Regions from separate parts of the Homo sapiens genome. Here region 1 is linked to region 2. Evidence: promoter capture Hi-C in human tissues and cell types (Jung and others, 2019). All regions are on one chromosome and are shown on one strand. The core of a region is centred on a gene start or on the middle of the fragment in contact, and the rest is flanking DNA. Distances in the headings are between cores, read along the strand shown.

The links. Contacts are between HindIII fragments. The study calls those that stand out against the background at their distance.
Region 1: the fragment with the promoter of WBP2NL here is called in contact with a fragment that was not itself captured in region 2 in 1 of the 25 tissues and cell types used here (spleen).

The regions. Positions count from the first base shown.
Region 1 is chr22:41,994,712-42,001,941 of GRCh38, forward strand. It overlaps WBP2NL (WBP2 N-terminal like), which reads left to right and starts at 4,077. Exons shown (of 6, transcript NM_152613.3): 1 at 4,077-4,169. The coding sequence starts at 4,108. SEPTIN3 (septin 3) reads left to right here. Exons shown (of 12, transcript NM_001363845.2): 11 at 1-3; 12 at 2,191-3,510. The coding sequence ends at 2,256. It also overlaps the pseudogene SLC25A5P1. RefSeq lists enhancers at 3,627-4,143, 4,144-4,658, 5,993-7,192 and a silencer at 3,970-4,029. The HindIII fragment of the contact is 18,305 bases long and covers 1-7,230 here.
Region 2 is chr22:42,345,454-42,352,475 of GRCh38, forward strand. No RefSeq gene overlaps it. Among named protein-coding and RNA genes, the nearest start is that of LINC01315, 20 kb to the right of the region's middle. RefSeq lists an enhancer at 6,144-6,644. The HindIII fragment of the contact is 5,764 bases long and covers 1-5,374 here.

The sequences.
Region 1 (7,230 bases), core at 2,827-5,326, 350 kb before region 2:
CCGGTGAGCGTGGACACAGAGGAAAGCCACGACAGTAACCCATGACGACCACTTCTCTGTGTCATCACACATACCCACTTCACACACACACATCCCAAATACCACCACCAACCACCTTCTTCCTCTCAACTCTGTCCCACAGGCCTGTCTGGTATTTGTGGAGCATCTTGTCTGTGTGTGTGTGTGTGTGTGTGTGTGTGTGTGTGTGTGTGACAGAGAGAGAGCGAGAGAGCCTGTGTGTGTGCATGCAGGGGTGAGGTATTTTCACTGCCCTCCCTGGAGAGTCCCTTGTAAGTTTGGCTCCTCCATGCCTGTCCATTATCTGTCTCCTTTCCTTGTGTCCCAAAACAAAGCTGTTTGCCTCACTCAGGAGATCTGGGGGAGGTTTCATTTAAAAGTGCTGGGAGCAGGTGAGCCACAGGCAACTCTTCTCTCGGAACCTGCACACAAACTGGGGCTATAGAGATTCTCCAAGGACAGATGGCAGTGGAGCTAGACCTGAGTAGGGGGCAGGGAGTTCAGGACAACCCTCCTGTAAGTTGGGGGTGGTCTGGGGGTAAGGCTGGGGCTTCCTGGGAAAAGGAAGGCCATGAGAAGGCAGAGAAGTAGGCCAGAGCTGGGTTCTTGCAGAAAGCATCAGTGCCTACAAATGGAGCTCCACCCTTCAGTCTGTGTCGTGTTCAGTGTCACAAAGCTACCACCTGTCACCAGAGCCTACTGCTGCTCTCCACTCAACTGGCCTCTGCTGCCAGGCCACTGCCTGTCTCTGCTTCCGACTTTGTCTTCTTTCTCCCTTTCCCTCCTTCCCTCATACATTGCTTTCTCTCCCTCTCCTGCGTGTCTCTGACATCTCTCACTTCCTTTTAGATGAATCTACTTTAGGTTCATTCCTATATTTAGCATTTATGCCCAGTCTACTTCCAGAAATGACTTTAGACTGCCTTTCACATAAAATCACAAAACTACAGGACAGTACAAACAGATTGCCAGAGAAATCTGGGTCAAAGAAAGGAATAGGAAAGAAAGTTTCTGTAGTCAAGCACCTGAACAGGCCCTGAGCTCACAGGCAGCCAATGTAAAGAGGGAAACACAGTGAGTTATGCAGTTCCCAGTGTCCAGTTAAAGGAAGCACACATGCTAGTCATGTGAGACAACCTTTTATTGGGACATCAGGTTCTAGAACTAATTCTAAAGAAGTATCAGAAACAATATACATAATTTGTCTTTCTTAGTAATTTGGCTTCAAAGACAAATTTTTGACCACACCTCCGTTTTCTCCGTCAGACTTCTCTCCCTTCTAAGCAGGCTTCTCTGTTGCTCCATTTGCTTCATACATACTTGACCTCTCTTTTCTATTCCCCATCACTTTTGTGCTGAAGCTAATCATATTTATGTCTGTCTTTCTCTACTTTTCCCTAATTCCCTCTCCTCCTGACTCCTGTAGACATTCCCAATGATACCCACCGTCATACATTTAGGCTTTTCTTGCCTTTCCCTGAAGCCCTGTATTTATTAATGCATATATTTCCCCTGCTTGTTGTACAAGTAAGTTACTCTTTTCCTTTAATCTGTAAGATTCATGAAATTCGGGGCCAGGGAAACAGTTTAGCCTTAGGGAAGGGAAAACACTAAGTGAAACTGTTTACAATAACCTCATACAACCTTCTGTCCCATCTCCTGGTTCAGCCTAGGTGTTTCACTGGTCCTCTATGAATCCCAGCACTTATAATCCCAGTCTTTTATCACTCAGGTGCTAGGAAAAAAAACATAGACTCAAGACCCAAGATTCAATGGACCAGGAGAAAGGGGGGCGGTGATCAGGTCACCAGTGACCCCAACCTATGCTCTCGGTCTTTCCTGGAGGCTGCCAACCCAGCCCTCATCCTCCCTTGCTCACAAAGTTACAGGGTAGGCACCTGTCAGGACAGAACAGCAGCAGCGCTACAGCCCAGAGGTTATACATTTCAACAGAACAGGGATCCTTGGCTACTGTAGAAGCAGTCCTGTATGGAGACCTTGGACCAGCAGGGGAAGATCTATGGGCATGGGAGGTGGGCGTTGGAAAGGCTGAGTAGGAATGGTGCCTGGCACCCCTGAACCATGATCTGAGCCTCCCTGGAGAAGGTATTTTATATGTCTGCTGCCAGCTGCTGGTCTCCACACCCTCAACCGTTCTCAACCCCCCTGCAGGGAGAAGGCCTCCTGGGCACTGTCCTTCCACCTGTGCCAGCCACCCCCTGCCCCACTGCTGAATGAAGGCCATTTCAAGCGCTGCTTCTCACTCCATTCCTCTCAGCTGTTATTGCTGCAGGGCCAAGCCCTTTTTAGTGCTGTGCTCGTCCAGCTCACCACCACAGCCCCTCTCAGCCCTCAGTAGGTGGGAGGGGCCAGCTGCCTCTTTAGGCCAGTTGCATCCTCCATTTATCCAAACCACTCCTCTCCTCCCAGTGGAGTGGGGTTCTGCCAGTACAGCCCTACTGCATCATCTGCGTCAGCCGGTCCTAGCCCATCTGCAGGGTGAAAGAACTCATCAAGAGCTCCTTCTGCCCTTGTAAGCCCATCCCAGCTACTTGTAACCATCTCTAAGGGCAATGGCATTGCTCCCTACCCATTCATCTGCATGAGCTACTCTTGGCTTCCTTAAAGGGTCAAGAAAGCAATTTTTCTGCTTACTAGATTCATTGAGATCAGCTGTGTGAGCCCCAAAGTGGGACAAGGGTGTCTCCTTCATTACTTAAAGATATTCATGAGGGTGGGTCACTACAGATGTTGGGGAGCAAGGGCTAGGATCACTTTTTAAAAAATCACCACTTGTGGCTGTCCCAGAGTGCGGTTGTACATCCTCCCCACCTCATAACGCAGCCACTGAGGAAGAGTGGTTTTCCTAAGAAGACATTGCTGGAGTTGACTTTCTTCTGTCCAAACAAACAAACAAAAACTAAACACACACACAAACCCCCAGAAACCCACAATATGTACACGCTAAGGAAAAACTAGCACCCTTCTGTCCACTCAGCAATAAGAGGGATCTCTTCCCACCTACCCTACCTACTCCTACCCCCAACCCCCTTCCCCATTAATGTGAGTAATGAATTAGCCTGACCACAGGTGGTCACTGTAGGCTAATGGAAAATACCCAAGGGAGGGCAAAGCCCCCCATCAGATGCATGAATGTTTGCGAATGTTGACTGCCACTGCCCCACACACTGTGTCTTTATAGAATTCCCCTTTGCCCACCCTCTTCCTGTCTCCACCTGGACACAACTTGCTCAAAGGCTGGTGACTTGTGGGCCATTCATCTACAACCAAGTCCTGATGGAGCAAGAGGCCCACGCCTAGGGGATGCAAGAACAACCCGTTTCTTAAATGTTACCAGTCCCAGCCAATCTTACGGTGACATTACAGTTAAATTTCCCAATTGAAAACAAGCAAACAGACACTCAAACTGGTCCTGTAATTGTTGCTAGACTTTATGTGTTGTACAACTAAACATTGCTGTTTGAACAGTAACTGCCTGGCCTGTCTTATTTGTGCTCCTTGACCAAATCAGCCATTATGTCATCTCACCCATGTGTGGAGGGTGAGACTCTCTTGGTAAGAAATAGCCACAGATATTAGAGATGAAAACACTTTGTGAGGTCAGTTCATCTTCAGTTGGCGTCAGGTCGGGCCTCAGTCATTATTTTCTAGTGTTTCATAACCAAAGTGAGTAATGGATGGGAGGTTGAGGTGGGAAGATGGCTTGAGCATGGGAGGTTGGAGGTGCAGTGAGCTGAGATCATTCCTGACAGGACCAACCCAAGTCCATACCTAAAGGCAGGGGGCTAAGGGGGCAGGTGAGGTCGGGAGGCCACTCACCTATCACTCACCCCTTCGCGCTCGAGCCAATTCTCAGGGCCCGCCTCTTTCTCCCCTTTCTCGGCGGGGGCCTCTACCCTGACTCCGCCCCGCTCCCCGGGCACTGCCCCACCACGTGACCCGGTCTCGCTCCTCCTCCTCCTCCTCCTTACGTCATAATCTCCGCCCTCCCCTTCAGAACCGCGCCCCACAGCTCGGCGCAGGTCCCGCCCCTTTCCATCTACGGGGCGGCAGGAGGCCCGAAGCAAGATGGCGGTGAATCAGAGCCACACCGAGAACCGCCGCGGAGCCCTCATCCCTAACGGTGAAAGGTGCCTGAGGGGAAGCACGGCGTGCTGTCGGAGGAGAGGAGACGAATGAGATAGACATGGCGGCTCGCAAACTCTCAGCGAGTCAGGGACTTTGCCGCCTTTTTTGGGCGCGGCGCTCTTAGCTCCGCCCCCGACCTTTGGGAGCGCGCGCCCCTCACTGGTGTTCCGGCATGTGGAGGTGGCGGAGGCCGGAACGCGTGGCCTCGCGCGTTTGAGGGGTGGGGGTGGGAATGCGCCTTTTCAAGGCGCGGGGCCCAGACGCATGTCTCCTCAGGGCGGGGCGGGGAGGGGGTGCGAGACGCGTGTGTCCTTCGAAGAGAGGCCGGAGCTGACCGGCGGTTGTGAGCAGCCGGGGGCCTTCGGTGGCAGCGTGGCTGCCCTTGGGTGCCTGCGACTTTGTTGGATGAGGACAGGTACTGGGTGTGTATCTCCTCCTACTTCCACGAACAAGGTGTCGCTCTTTGGTAAGAGGGATGAGGAGGTCGAGTGTGGATCATTCTGGAAAGATCTCAAACTGTTGTGGGGCTTCTCCTTGGACCTGGAAACTTTCTAAAGCCATGTTTCCTCCTTGCTCCAACCAGGGAGATGTCTGCTTTTAAAAACAAAATTGAAAAAATTGAGGCCAGGTGCAGTGGCTCATGCCTCTTATCCCAACAGTTTGGGAAGCTGAGGTGGCCCAGGAGTTTGAGACAAGACTGGGCAACATAGTGAGACCCCATCTCTACAAAAAGTAGAAAATTAGTGGGCCATGGTGGTGTGCACCCATAATCCCAGCTGCTTGGGAGGCGATGGTAAGAGGATTGCTTGAACCCAGGAGTTTGGGCTGCAGTGAGCTCAGATTGTACCACTGCACTCCAGCCTGGGTAACAGAGCCAGATCCTGTCTTAAAATAAAAGATGGGACTGAACAGATGCCTGGGCACAACAAAGCACTGTTGGTCGCAGGAAGCTGTGGGGCTTACACCAGTTGCTTTGCTCCTTGCGGTGCCTGCTGCTGGCCCCTGAGCTCTCTACTGGAGCAGACTCAGCCAGAGGGGTGCCCATCTCCACCTTCAAGCACACTTGTTCACTAAGGCCTGACTCCACTGCGCTCACCTCTTTACCCCACACGCCCCCTTTCCCGTTTCCTACACTCAAACTCAGTCTCCCCCGCTGTGCAGTTCTAAATTGCGCTCCTTTCTGGGCTCTGACTTGCCCTCAATTTCCTTTTCTCCCAACCAGCATTGAAACTCAAGCTGGATGATGTGCTTGGGGCCAGCACACTCAGGTCAGTTTGAATGTAGTTGTCAGGAAGATCGAAGTAGACGTTACCAAATGCTGATATCCAGGTCTTTCTTCTATCTTTCCTTCCTCCAGAAAGTTTTCTTGACAGATTTATATGGGCCTTAGAGGTTGTATGTTCTCACCTGCTTCCTACGTACCTCTGCTGCTTTGTTCCATTTTGTGGTAGATGATTGCTCACCACTCTGACAGTGGTGTCCCCGTGAGCACTTACTGAGAGCCATTTGAGCACTTGTCATTCCATGGTGTGAAGCCTTTCTTTTCTTTTCTTTTTTCTTTTCTTAAGATATTTTTATTTCTCCAAATTTGTTATTTATTAGGAGTGACTGAAATAAAAAACATAATTGAGTCCCATCATCATCATCATCATAGAAATGGCTTTAAGAGAAAACTGGTCAGATGACTATTATTGCTTCCCATTTCCAACCAGTGAATAGTTGCCACTGATAAATTGACAGCGAGGAGTCTGTCAAGAATGCTCAAGATAGCCGGGCGCGGTGGCCCACGCCTGTAATCCCAGCACTTTGGGAGGCCCAGGTGGGTGGATCACAAGATCGGGAGTTCAGGAGCAGCCTGGCCAATATGTTGAAACCCCATCTCTACTAAAAATACAAAAAAAAAAAAAACAGCCGGGAGTGGTGGCGGATGTCTGTAGTCCCAGCTACTCAGGAGGTTGAGGCAGGAGAATTGCTTGAACCCAAAAGGTGAATCACCCAAAAGGTGAACCAAAAGGTTGAGGCAGGAGAATTGCTCCACCAAAAGGTGGAGGTTGCAGTGAGCCGAGATTGTGCCACTGCACTCCACCCTGGGCAATAGAGGGAGACTCCGTCTCAAAAAAAAAGAATGCTCAAGATATGTCATATAATACAACATGCCTGTTCAAAGGGGGAAAAATCTTAGGAAATAACTTACATGTACTTCTTGGTTTCATCATACAAGACAAGCACAAAAGCACCACCCATGCCTCTGAGAACACTGGACCATGCACCCTTGAAAACAGCTTTGCTTCCTTCATCATGAGTAATCTTCCTCCAGCAGTCAAATGTGCCTGTGTACATGATGTCAGTTCCTTTGCATCCTGACTGCATCATCATGTAGCAGCAAATGGTGTTAAATGAATAGGAAGTCAACCCAGCAACGGCAGTGACAGTCTGTGCATCATCCAACTGATGACAATGTGAGTGTTCTTGGGATCCGGAAGCATTCCCTTTGCAGTGTCATAGTTACCGAAGTAGGCAGCAGGCAGCTCGGTAGATAATACCCTGCACAGACACGTTAAAGCCTTGGTACAGGCTCTTAATCCCGTCAGATTTGTAGATCTTAACTAGGCAGTCACCGAAACCTCGCAATTCCCTTTCAGCTCCAGCTTTGCCCACATCAGCTGCTACACGAGTATGGGCAAAATCAAGAGGGTACACAAAACACAAGGATGTGGCCCCAGTGGCACCGCCTGATGCCAGATTCCCTGCAAAGTAGCGCCAAAACTGGGATCTCTTGTCCACACCATCCAGGAAGATCTGCTTGTATTTATCTTTGAAGGTGAAGTTAAGAGCCTGGGTGGGGGAAGTATCTGATGACACTGGCCAGGTTACCGCACCAGGACAGGACTCCGTGCTCCTTGGGAATACAGACCATGCAGTCTCTAATGCCCTTGTATTGCTTATCTGCAGTGATCTGCTTGCTGGCATGCTGCACCTGTAGCAGCAGCTTGACCCGCTCGATGGGTGCTACCGCCATCTTGGAGATGGCTGCGGCCACTCCACCTGCCAGGGAGTCCTTGG
Region 2 (7,022 bases), core at 1,243-3,742:
TTCAGACTGGGTGACCTTGCCAAGGTCACAAGGCTGACCGGGCACTAAGCCAGAAGCTTATGCACCCCCCAAAGTGTCCCTACCCTGAAGGGAAGCAAGACCCCCCTCAGGGTTAGATCCAGAGCTAAGTCCAGGAGGTGGGACTGGTCTGCAGTGCAGGAGAGGCAGGCACCTGCATCCCAGAGCTGGCTCCAGACAGGTCTCCCTCCTGGGAGGGAGGTTGCACAACCTGGGCACCCCACCTCCTCAACTACTCCCTTGCCACAGCGGCCTGGCCAGTTGCCCTCCTCACTGAGGGGGCAGGAAAGCAGGCCTAGCTCAACAGCCAGCAACAACACACGAGCCACAGACCACCTTCCTGGGCCTCAGTGTGCCCATCTGTCATGTGGGGGAACACCGCCAGCCTCTATGGGCTTTTATGGGGGAGCGGGGGCAAACAAGACAGCTGATGATGGGCAAGGAAGAGGGAGAACCAGGCAGTTAATGCTCCAGCTCTGAGCTGGTCTGGGTTCACATCCTGACTTCCCGATCACCTAGCTGTGACTCACCTGCTCGAGGCCTCAGTTTCCTCATCTGTAAAAACAGTAGAGGGGATTATAAAACCAACAGACTCAAGAGACTGTAATGAGGGTGACAGGACCATGCATGGTTGGGACCTCAGCACAATCTGACAATCCCAAGGCCTAAGACCTGTGACCTTGAAGGTGGAAACAGGAAAAAGGAGCAGCTAAACACATGGACCCTGGAGGGTTCACATCCAGCTCTGCTCTGTGTGGCCTTGGGCAAGTTACCTAACCTTACTGGCCTCAGTTGCTCTGTCTGTAAAGTGGGGCTATTAATGACAGTTCTCACCTTATCAGGTTGTGCTGGGGCTTAAATTAGATAACTCAGGTTCTGTACTTAGAACAGCACCTGGCACCAGTAACACTCAAACAGCACTAGTTTGCTTCTCATTACTCTCGAGATTATAAAGGCAACCAGTCCCAAGCTCGAGGAGATGCTCCTGCTGTCCCCAGGAGACCGTGGACCTGATTTTTCATTCAGAAAATAATCAGACAGACCTACGTTCAAATTCTACCTCTACCAGCTGGCACCTCTAGGCAGGCCTCAGTCTCCTCAGCTGTGAAGTGGGGGCACAGCGCCTACCGCAGCTGCTCTCCAGCTACACCTGAGCCTCACCCTCCCGTTGCCCCTCACCAGCTTTCCAGTGAAATGAAGACAGCTCAGTTGGGGACCCTGACTACAGCCCCAACAGTGGCCAGATGGGGCACCGGACCCAGAGCAGCCCCTCGTGCAGTCTGAGAGCCCCAGGGCTGCCTAGGCAGGTGGCTGGGGGACCAGCTGAGCCTCTCGGGGCCCAGATTGTTCCAGAAGCCATGGACGGGTACCACCTGGAGAGAGGGATGAGGGTCCCTCAGAGAGGCCTTTCCTGACCCCCTAGCTTCAGTCATTCCCAGTTTTCCTGTTTCTATGGTAACGACCATTATCTATAGTCATCCTTCTTCACCTGTGAGTTGTCTGTCTTTGCCCTCCCTCACCCAGGGTCCATGAGTGTGGGGATTTTCGTCTGTCTTGATCCCTGCTAGACCGCTAGCATCTAGAAGAGTGCAAAGCGCATAGTAGGTGCTCAACAAATATATGCCACTGAATAAGGATTCTCAGATAGTAACAGTTAGCTAGAAGGCTGGGATGGCGGAGCCCCTGCCTGTGCGTAGCTCCCCTTCCTGGAAGACAGCCCCGTCCAGCTGTGGTCCCCTTCTCTCCGTCTCCCCACAGCAGGGGTGAGGAGGCCTGGAGTTGGTCCCCTCTACAGCCAGGAAGCATGTCACTTTCACGGCAGTGCAACGGGGTTTCTCGGGCGAGGGAGGGACCTGGGCAATTTTCTGGCTCACAGCTCATTCCAGAGCTGCCTGGTGACACAGACGTCCCAGCCCCCACAGGCCCAGGGAGGCCCTGCTCCAGCAGATGCAGCCTGGGATTCCCACCCTCGTGCCACCCACTGGGACTGAAGGGGCTTGCCGACTGAGCCCCAGGATGTCATCTGGGGGCTGGGCTCCCGTCCGCAGCCCCAGCCCCAGGCCCTCACGTGTGCACAGCACTCCCCCGTTACAGTTTACAAAGTGCGTTCACAGACATTATCACGTCGGCTCCTAAACGCCCCCTAAAAACCACAATAAATCTCTCGCTCTGGCTCCCGAGCCCACCGGCTGCTGCATAATCAGTGAGCAGAGAGGCCTCAGGGCCCACAGCCTGCCAAAGCCGAGGCAGCGCCAGCAGGGGCAGAGGGGGCTCCACGTGGGCGGGTGGCAGGTGGCGGGTGGCAGGCCCAGCTGGGGCGCCGCAGGAGCGAGGAGCCTGCCGGAGGCCCAATCCTGCAGAGGCAAAGTCAAAAAATGCTGTCTCAACACAGAATGTCTCCTGGAAGATGGGACCAGCAGGTCTTGAGGGGAGGTGATGGGGACCCAGGGGCGGGGCAAAGTCTAGGAAGGGGCTGAGTGCTCTTTAGTACTTAGTAGCATCATTGAGGAGGTGTAGCTAGGAGGTAAACATGGTTCTCAGTCCAGCACTTGGGGCCCAGGGACAGTCAGCCCAGCTGGCTTCTCCCGCTCTGCTCCTCTTCATTCCTAGATAACGGCCCTCCACTAGCGCGGGCCCCCTGGCTATGGGCTCCCGTGGCAGGGCTCCCCATGTGCCAAGCCTTTGCGCACTTGGTCGTTCTTTTTGTCTGCAAGATCCTTACCGCTGTGTTGAAGTCCTAACCTTCCTTGAAGGGAAATTGAGAACTCTCTCACCTGGAGATCCCTCCCCAGCTTCTGGAAGCCACACTTGGGCCCCAGAGCTGCACCTGGGTTCACCTCCCTTAACCGTCACAAGTCCCTTTACCACTTTGTACCTCATGCCCTGGGACAGGGGCTGCATCGTGCTGCCTTTGCAATGGCCCAGGGCCCCCGCACGCAGAAGGGGTGCCTGTGAACGACAGTGACCCGCCAATGACATGAGGCCTCAGGCTTATAGGAGGAGGTGAGACCCCATGTGACAGATACAGCCAGCACCGCTCCTGTGTTTGCAGCCCAGCCACTGGCTTTGGGCAGCCCCAGAGAAAGATTCCCCCAAATGTCTGAGCCGAATCAGCCAGCGGCTGCAGTTGGGTTTTGTTTTTTCACATTTCCCTTGATTCTCAAAGTTATAGGAGCTCAACTTACAAACTATGGAAAGTTCAAGAAGTTTAAATAAGCAGGGCAAGGGAGGGCCTGGTGTAAGGGGGCGGTGGCTGCCCTGGCAGGCTTCCCTCCCGCAGCCTGCCCCATAAGCCTTGGGCTGGACCTCCAGGCCGCAGAGGTGGCTGATCTGTCACACTGGCGGTTGTGAAGCAGGTGGCAGCTTCTCTGTAGTCACCTATGAAAGGATCTAGCATTTCTGCTTTCCCCGGTTATCAAAACCAGCTGCCAGACCTGAGCCTTGGTCGGGGGTCAGGGGACACCATAGGCCCTGTGAAGTGTTCACGCTGCGGTGTCTGAAGCCCAATAGAGGCAGAGGGAGTGGGGGAACTGGAGGTGGGAGGTGACTCATGGGGCAGATATCCTCCCTCCCAGGGGACACTGGACCCCCTCCATGAGACCCCTGAGCCCACAGCCAGAGGACTGGGAGAGCAGAGCCCAGGCAGCCCCAGGGCCTGGCTCCTTGGCCTGGTATCCCAGCTCCTTCCCCCAGCAAGGGACTTGTATCCAGAAGCACCAAGAATTCTTACAATGTACAATCAAAGGACAAGTAGACCAATTTTTTTTTTTTTTTTTTTTTTTTCTGAGACTGAGTCTCGCCCTGTTGCCCAGGCTGGAGTACAGTGGCACAGTCTTGGCTCACTGCAACCTCTGCCTCCCGGCTTCAAGCAATTTTCTGCCTCAGCCTCCTGAGTAGCTGGGATTACAGGCGCGTGCCACCACACCTGGCTAATTTTTTGTATCTTTAGTAGAGACAGGGTTTCACTCGAACTCCTGACCTTGTGATCCACCTGCCTCGGCCTCCCAAAGTGCTGGGATTACAGGGGTGAGCCACCACGCCCAGCCCAAATAGACCAATTTTTAAATGTGCAAAAGATTGGAATAGAATTTCTCCAAAGAAGATATTCAAATGGCCAGGTGCAGTGGTTCACGCCTGTAATCCCAGCACTTTGGGAGGCCAAGGTGGGCGGATCACCTGAGGTCAGGAGTTTGAGATCAGCCTAGCCAACATGGTGAAACCCTGTCTCCACTAAAAATACAAAAATTAGTTGGGTGTGGTGGTGGGCGCCTGTAATCCCAGCTACTTGGGAGGCTGAGGCAGGAGAATCACTTGAACCCAGGAGGTGGAGGTTGCAGTGAGCCGAGATCACATCACTTCCTGGGTGACAGAGTGAAGCCCTGTCTCAAAAAAAAAAAAACGCTTGACATCATTAGTCACTAGTCAAAATCACAATGAGATGCCATTTAATACCCACTGGGATATCAAAAAGACAAGCAATAACACGTGTTGGTGAATATTTGCAGAAATTGGAATACGTGTGCTTTGCTGGTGGGGATATAAAATGGTGCAGCCACTGTGAAAACCATCTAGCCATTTAGCAAAACATTAAAAAATGAGTTATTCTATGACCTAGCAGCTTCACTCCTAGGTATACACACCGAAAAGAAGGGAAAGTATATGTCCACATGAAAACCTGAACACAAATGTTTCCAGCAGTTTTTTTGTTTTTGTTTTTTCCTTTACTGTGATGAAGTTTCAGTCTTGTTGCCCAGGCTGGAGTGTAATGGCGCAATCTCGGCTCACTGCAACCTCTGCCTCCCAGGTTCAAGTGATTCTCCTGCCTCAGCCTCCCTAGTAGCTGGGATTACAGGCATGTGCCACCACACCCAGCTAATTTTTGTATTTTTAGTAGAGATGAGGTTTCACCATGTTGGTCAGGCTGGTCTCGAACTCCTGACCTTAGGTGATGCACCTGCCTTGGCCTCCCAAAGTGCTGATATTACAGGCATGAACCACCATGCCTGGCCCCAGCATCATTATTCATGATCTCCAGAAAGTAGAAACAACCCATATGTCCACTCACGGATGAATGGATAAATAAGATGTGGCATATCCATACAGGGGAATATTATTCAGCCATAAAAAGGAGTGAAGTACCCATTCATGCTACTACATGATGAATCTTAAAACACGCTATACTAAGTGAAAGAAGCCAGACACATATTGTCTGGAGTCCATTCATTTAAAATGTCCAAAACTGGCAAATCCATACAGACAGAAAGTAGATTAGCGGTTGCCAGGGGCTGGAGAAGAGGGGATATTGGAGAGTGATTTCTAATGGATATGGAGTTTCTTTTGGAGATTATTAAAATGTTTTGGAATTAGATATTGGTGATTATTAAAAACCACTGAATTATGTGCCTTAAAAGGATGAATTACATGGTATGTGACTTTTATCTTAATAAAACCGTTTATTATTTATTTATTTAGAGACAGTCTTGTTCTGTCCCTCAGGCTACAGTGCAGCGTTGCGATCACAGCTCACTGCAGCCTCGAACTCTTGGGCTTAAGTGATCCTCCCGCCTCAGCCTTGTGAGTAGCTGAGACTACAGGCATGCATCATTACACCTGGCTAATTTTTTAAATTTTTAGTAGAGAAGAGTTCTCACTATGTTGCCCAAGCCTGTCTCAAACTCCTGAGCTCAAGGAAGCCTCCCACCTTGGCCTCCCACAGTGCTGTGATTACAGATGTAAGGCACCATGCCTGACCAATAAAACTGTTTTTTCAAAAAATAGGGTCCCCCACACCTCAGTGTATTCCACAGGCGCCTGGGAGCCAGCCCTGCTCTCTGCCCAGGCTCAGACCCTGCCCCTCCGAAGCCACCATCCTGGGACAATGAGACACAATGGGGGCAGGGATGCCAGGAGCCGACATGCTGAGGTGGTCAGGGCTCCCTCCACTGGGTCCAGCTGCCTGCTGCCGTGGGCCTTTCGCTCTGGCTGTTGCTTCTTCCTGCAATACTCTTCCCTTTGTCCTGCTCATCCTCCAGAACTCAGCTCAGCGTGCTGGTCCGCAGAGGGGCCTTGCCTGATCCTACACCCTTGTAACTGATTCTCAGTCTCAGTCCTCTCCCAGTTCCCAGCGTTTGACACAATCATGGGGCCAGTGCAAAGCGGATGCACAGTCAACGTTATGTGTGAAGCAGGGGCAAGTAGCTCAGTGAGAGGTTGATGGTGTTTAGGAGGGGTGAGTTGTTGGGGGAGTGGACATCCACCCCACGAATCAGGAAGCCACGAGGATGAGGAGGGGGTGAGCTGGACGCAGATTCTAGAATGATCCCTTTGGTTGTTCTGCAGGGGATGGACCAGCAGTACCAGGCTGGAGACCTGAGGCCGGATAGAGGCCATGGCCTTAGTCCAGGCCTGGAGAGGCAGGGCCCGGCCTTGGACAGAGGATGCACTGGAGGAGGGGAGGGGCACACTTCAGAGAAATTTGGGAGCCAAAATCAAAGTGACTTGGGGATGGCAACAATGTGAGGGAGAGGGAGCCCAGGATGGCACCAGGTTTTGGTGGTGTGAAGGGCCAGGTGAGGATGGGACATTTCTGAGGTCGGGAGCACTGTAGGAGGAGCACATCTGGTATGGCTGACTCTGAGAGGCTGACTCTGAGACCCCAGCAAGCAGTGCCACCCCCACTTATTAAGTCCATCCTCATACCCCATGACACTTCCCATGTCCATCTCCCTTGACATCCAATTGCCGAGGTCAGGTCTCCACAGCCCCTACCTGGTCAAAGCCTCCTGCCATCAAACCAGGTGCCTTTTCTCATTTGTCCTCCATGGTGCCAACAGTTAAAATCAGCACAGCTTGGTCATTCTTCAGCTCAGAAACCTTTGATTGCTCCCTACTGCTCTCTGAACAAAGTCCAGATGCTCCAGCCAGGCCCATGAGACCCTCCAGGGCCAGTCCACTTGGCTTTGCAGCCTCCCCTGCGCCCGCCCGGTTCCTTCACTCCCATCCCA